Linked DNA regions of Homo sapiens: region 2 is linked to region 1. The links are contacts of gene promoters, found by promoter capture Hi-C in blood cells and fetal thymus (Javierre and others, 2016). All regions are on one chromosome and are shown on one strand. The core of a region is centred on a gene start or on the middle of the fragment in contact, and the rest is flanking DNA. Distances in the headings are between cores, read along the strand shown.

What was found. The method cuts DNA at HindIII sites, captures the fragments that hold promoters and counts their contacts. A CHiCAGO score of 5 or more calls a contact.
Region 2: a fragment that was not itself captured here is called in contact with the fragment with the promoter of SLC71A1 in region 1 in 8 of 17 cell types (activated CD4 T cells, non-activated CD4 T cells, megakaryocytes and 5 more); the score reaches 6.8 in activated CD4 T cells.

What each region holds. Positions count from the first base shown.
Region 1 is chr1:100,036,440-100,039,582 of GRCh38, reverse strand. SLC71A1 (solute carrier family 71 member 1) reads right to left here and starts at 1,488. Exons shown (of 12, transcript NM_033055.3): 1 at 1,267-1,488. The coding sequence starts at 1,350. It overlaps LOC124904230 (a long non-coding RNA gene), which reads left to right and starts at 1,575. Exons shown (of 7, transcript XR_007066251.1): 1 at 1,575-1,853. RefSeq lists silencers at 862-1,051, 1,512-1,691 and enhancers at 1,172-1,451, 1,414-2,016. The HindIII fragment of the contact is 6,938 bases long and covers 1-2,806 here.
Region 2 is chr1:100,868,962-100,872,104 of GRCh38, reverse strand. No RefSeq gene overlaps it. Among named protein-coding and RNA genes, the nearest start is that of EXTL2, 24 kb to the left of the region's middle. The HindIII fragment of the contact is 690 bases long and covers 1,159-1,848 here.

The DNA.
Region 1 (3,143 bases), core at 239-2,738:
ATTAATCAAGTTCAATAAAAAGAACTTGAGGAATTTGTTTCTTTTTTTCAATAAATGTCAAAGCTATAACATATAATAAACGTTAAACTAAAAATATATTCCAAAGTCATTACATATGTCTCAAGTTTTCTAAACTTTGGCATATTGACTGGGCCGTGTTCTGAAATGTCATAAAATTTTGTCACGTTTTTCAACTGAATTCAGCAAATCCTCAATGGTGGCCTACTTACACATTTACTACTGTGCTAGCAGTTGATCGCGGCTCCAATAAGATATAAACAGAAATGGAATTAATGGTACAATTTCTGCACACTTCAGGTAAGTGAAACATATATATCACCTTTCCATTCTATTTCAGAACGCGGTATCAGCGGATGCAACAAAGACCACACAGTGTAGCAACGGAGAAATGTTAGCATAAAACAGTTTTGTTTTGTTTTGTTTTTCAATTAAAAATCCTACGTCCCCAGCTGGTTAACTACACACTGCATAAAGTTTACTGTGATGACAACTGTTTCTAAAAAGCAAACCTTTCTTCCCTTCAAAGTGTCCTCCTCCGATCCTTAGGCCATGACTGATTCTAATACTTTTGATCTTAAGACACACAGTGATGACTTTTCTTTGAAAACTAGCAGGTTCGAATGTAGGCCCCAGGTGTCTGCCGTCATGCTTCCGACTCCGGGAAGTGAGGGAAGCCCATCTCCGGTCAGGGTTTACTGTAAGCAGCCCAGAGCCGGAGCACCGACGCAGAGAGACGTGGAAACAGAAAGCGAACGTACTACGGGGCCGCAGCGGGATCCCCGCGCCAGACGCCACCCCGTTAGCAACATATGGGAGAGCAGGGATGGTTCCCAGCCCCTTGACAAGCGCGGCGACGGCTCCGCGGGGCCTGGCGGCGAAGGCGAGGCGAGGCTGCGGCGACGAGGGGCGCGGCGGGCGGGCCGCCGGGGGAGCCCCGCACATTCCTCCCCGCGGCGGAGGCGCACGTGGGGTTCGAGGCCGCAGGGCCTGCAGAGGCGGCCAGAGCAGAGGGCGGCAGGTGCGGGAAAGAAAGAGGACGGGCCCCGGAGGCCGCAAGCCCGAGCAGCGGAGGACGATTCCCGGAGCGGCGGCATGCGGGTCCGCGACCCCGAGGCACCGGCAGCTCGGACAGGGTGGGGGAAGGGAGGGAGGCACCGGGACGCCTAGAGACGGCAGTGTGGGGGTCTGAAGGAGAGACCGGATGGGGGCCCCGAGGGACGCTCGCCGGCGCGGAACTCAGCTCACCGTGCCTCCGTCCTTAATGATGATCTTCTTGGCCAGCATGATACTGCGGTTCGCGGCCCGTTTCTTCTTCTTCCCCTGGGTCATTTTACCATCCTCGATTCCTGGCGCTGCTGCAGCCACTCCCGGGGCGGCAGGCCCCAGCAGCTAGTGCCGTCCCACCACTACTGCCGGGCCGAGCCGCTCTGGGCGCCCGCCGCCATCTTGAGGGCCCGGCCTGCCTCCGGCGGCGCGTCACAATCGTGCGATCAGCCGACGAGCGGGCCCCGCCCCTCCCGCGTGATACCGCCCCGCCCGCTCGCCGCCAGCCCACTCTACAGTAGCCGCGCGGCCAGGGTAACCGCGGGCTCGCGTGGGTGCTGCTGGCTACCTGTACAACTTCGTGCTCCGGCGTCACCAGCTAGCTAAATCCTCGCAACGGTTCTGGGCGATAGGGGCCGTTTTTGTCCCCCTTCTTCAGCAGATGAGGGAATTTGTTTCAAAAAGTTGTTACCTGCTCACGGAAACAGACGTCCTAAGCTATTAACACAATCTCCAGCTGTGTTCTAACCAAGACAGGAACCGAAGGGAACAGTAAAAAATCATTTTCCGTAAGTAATGGGTAACTTAAGAGATAATGTAGTGTTTCAGAAACAGTCTTGTCCTTTTGGTGTTCAGGGACCCCCGCTAGAACTCAGCTGGCTCACGCTTGTTTACCTCCCTAGACCCAGGACCTTTTTTATTCCCTGCCAAAAAAAATACCTTACCTGACCGATGTCACCCTTTGTGGCCCTCTACGTTTTTACTGTATTGTTTAAAAATAAATTTGATGGGAACATTGCTAGAAAGGGCAATTTACACAAGTGGAAGTGGACTTTAAAGTATCACAATGTTAAAATTAGATATTGATAACTACCGTGTTGTATAATAGAATATCCTTTTCCTTAAGAGAAAAACACGAGGGATAGGGATACACCGCATGCTCCCTACTCTCAGATGGTTAGGGAGTAACATGTATGTGTATGTATATGTAGGTGGGGAAAAGAGAGGGACAAAGCAAAATGGCGAATGTTTAAAAGTACTGAAACTAGGTATGGTAGTTCTAAGATATGTTCACAGATTCAATGATATTCCTCCCTGGAAGAGGTGGACTCTAATTCCCCTCCCCTTGAGTGTAGACTAGGCTTAGTGACTCTTGATAGATCAAAACAGAAGTGACAGTATTGACTTCAGAGGCTAGGTCATAAAAGGCACTGCATCTTCCTTTGCGGGTCTCTTTTTCATTCATTTTGGGGCTTGGAGCCTGGGGAAGCCTGCTTCCGTGTTTTCAGGACACTCAAGCAGCCTATGGAGAGATCCAGTTGTCCAGGAACTGTTTGTAGCCTCCTACCAAATGCCACGGAGTGAGTCACTTTGGAAGTAGATCCTCCAACCTTGGTCAAGCCTTTGGCTGACTACAACTTCATGAGAGACCCAGAGGTAGGACCACCTAGCTTAGCCACTCCTGGAATCCTGACTCAGAAACAGTGTAAGATGAAAAGTACTTGGTGTAAGCCACTAAGCTTTGGGGTTATTTGTTACACAGCTATAAATAACTAATATATAGGGTAAAAGGAAAAACAGTAAATGAATGTATGAGTTCTTTGTACTGTTTTTGCAACTTTTCTGTAAGTTTGAAATTATTTCCAAATAAAATGTTAAAAAGTAAATTTGATTGAATTTCCTTTTCCTTGTATTTTCATACTGACTAAAAATGGAAAAAAAAACTAATTTCCATGGAAGGGAGAAGAAAAGCAATTTATAGCCTGATAGATACTTCTAATTATATTTTCCAATCAATAAGTATATTCATTATACTTGTTTTGAAACATATATTCTCATTTTGAAACTTTTTTTATTAT
Region 2 (3,143 bases), core at 254-2,753, 830 kb before region 1:
CTCCTATTAAAGCTGTCTTTCCCTGAACGCCTCTTATTCTTGCCTCAAATGATCTGGAGAAGAGATGCTCAGGCTTAAAACTTTGTAAGAGAAGCAATGCAACGTAGCGGGTCAATTGTGCACACTTTGCCATTAGAATACTTGGGCTCAAATCCTTGCTAGACCTCATTTTCTCTTTACTCAGTTTCCTTATCTGCAAAATAAGGATAATATCTGCCTGGAGTTTGTTTTAAGGAATAAAAGAGATAACTTGCATAAATACAGCACAGTGCCTTGCCCATTTTAGATGTTCAGTAAATGAAAGCTGTTGGGATGACAGTGTTATTGATAATAAGGACAGAATTAATCCTTCCACTCACCACCTAGGTGTTAGGAAGCCCCTGCATCCACCAGGTGAGACATTCAGGAAATTATTTGCATTTAACTATGGGTAAGGAACCATGGCAGTTTCATCTCCTATTCATTATTTATTTCAAATACTGTTTTTCCTTTCTTTTTTTTTGAGACGGAGTCTCGCTCTGTCAAATACTATTTTTCTTATGATTAAAGCAGTATATATTCATTCCGGCAATTTTGGCATATTCAGAAAAGTATAAAGAAGTAATTAAAAGCCCACTACCCCAATTAACAATGGCATTTTTGTATGTGTTCCTGCAGACTTTTCTAGGCATATATTTTACTAGCATGATTTATCTGGTATTTTATTATATGAATAAACCATAATTTATGCACTCAATCATACTACCATTTTATTTTATACTTTTTTACCATTATAAAAACATTTGGATAAGTATCTTTGCCTTGAAAAGATATCTTTGAGCATATCTATAATTATTTCTTTAAAATCAAGTCCAACAAAGTTCAATACCTGGGTCTATCTAGTAGTGTGTGTGCTTTTAGGGTTTTGCTACATACTGCTAAATGCTTCCAGAGGTGTTGACATGGCTAGCCTATTCATACCACATCTGAGAGCACCTGTTTCCTGTCAGTTTCCCAAAATTGAGTATTATTTAACAGGTTCTTTCATATATTTTTTCTACATATAAAATACTCAAATAGTGCTGGATTTGAAAGGCTGCTCATTCATAGAACTCTGTGTTGAGAAGACTGAAAAGGCAGGCAATCAACTATCAAAAAAACTGGAGGGCAATATAAGCTTCAGGAAGCATTTGACAGCTTCTAAAAACTTTACTCCAAGGTTTAGAGTATAAACAATGAAAATTTCCTGGTACCAGCAATAAACCGTTTGGAAGCAACAGAAATGGCCACATTTGTTTCCTCTGGGAAGACCTAAGGCTTTGAACCTGAGGCCAGGAAGGGATATCTGTGTGTGCTAGAATACATGCACTTGAGGGGGTAGGAGGGACAGGGAGTGGAATGTGGGAGAGGGAGTGGAGGATATTGCTGTGATGGAGGATGAGTATGAAGGTACTGAATCTCAAAGGTTGCCACAATGACTTAAATGGTGAGATTATATCATCCTCTATCCCATGCCAGCTTTTATCGTTTATTGTTCCACTAAGTTGCTTTCAACTTTGTTCACTTTCTCCCTTCCCTCCTTCTTCCCCTCCCTCATTCTTCTTTCCTCCACTCCTTGAAAGCCTTCTTAATATACAACTCAAATATATAGCTACCATAGATGAAAAAAAGACCATTTGGTACCCTAGAAACATGCACTGAGTCCTGGGTTGACTTAATTTCATCTGAAGAATAGGGATGAAAATACCTGCCCCAAGATTCACAGGCCATAACGTGTAAAGAGAACTTTGCAATAGCAGGAAAATTAAAGAATATTGTAAAAGCCATCACTGATAAACAGCAGCTTGGCCAACAGTTAAAAAGAAAGCTTGGTTGTGAAGTAGTAACTGTGTCAGAATTATACCTTAGAGTATAAAAAGAAGCGAGAGTAAGTATGCAAGTACTGAAAGCAATTTAAGGGGCCCACTTTAGCTCTAGCTCAGAAGGAATATGTAAATGAAGTATTTATTTAATCTAGAGAGGCCTCAAGTCTCTTTTCTTTTTCATATGTCAATATTTCTTTTATCTAAAAGGAAAAAGAATCAAATTCTTGATTGGAATATTTTCAGTAGTTTAAAAATATATATATCTGAAGCAATCAGTCTTACTTTATAGCCGTAGGTCCTAACCTGGACTGATTTTGCCCCCGAGGGGACATCTGGCAATGTCTGGAGACATTTTTGGTTGTTACAATGGAGGGCTTGCTACTGGCGTCTAGTGAGTCGAGGCCAGAGATGCTGCTAAGCATCCCACAATGCACAAGACAGGCCCTCACCACAAAGAACTAAGTGTCCCAAAATGTCAGTAGTGCTAAAGTTGAGAAAAAATATATTTGGCATTATATTATGGAATATTTCATCAGTCTTGTATCATATCACACTACTTATCACAATGAAAGTTGCATTTTTAAAGTTTTATCCTGTATAACAATGCCTATTGGAACAGAACATTAAGGGAAAATGTGCTTGTATTTCTGATAAAACATCTGATGCATGATGCTATGACCCTCAACCTCATCAAAGAGCCAGAAATTTCCCTGGTTAAGGTTTATTTTTGATTCATTTTCTTTTTCTCATCCACATACCTCTTTCTATTTTCACATATTGAAGAAATAGAGAATGGAGCTTGATTTTCTGGGAGGGAACATATGAATGAATATATATATTTCTGAAGCACCACAGAGAAATATTATATAATATGCTGTGTGTTTTAATAATGTCTCAGAGAAAGTCGGCATGGTTGAGTTAAAATAAGCTAAATATAAATTCTCAGGTAAGCATACTTATGTGTGAGTATGTGTGTCCAAATATTTTTGGTTTAAACAATAAATAATATACAGCTAGTGAAGACAATTTATATAGAAAAGAATCTTGCGATGGGAGAATCAGGGAACTTTCTTTCTAGTATCAGCTAGGTGACTAAGTTAATTAAATTTATCTGGGTCTCAATTTCCACATATACAAAAGAGAATGACAAACTAAATGGTCAGGAAATTTATTTCCCGTTTCAAAATTCCATAACCCTAAACGTGAGTATTGAATTAATAGGTTTTAAAGTAGCTATATTATACTTCCCAGCAAGAAAAAATTATCCCGTAGAGTTTAGCTCTGTTGGAACCTCCCCTA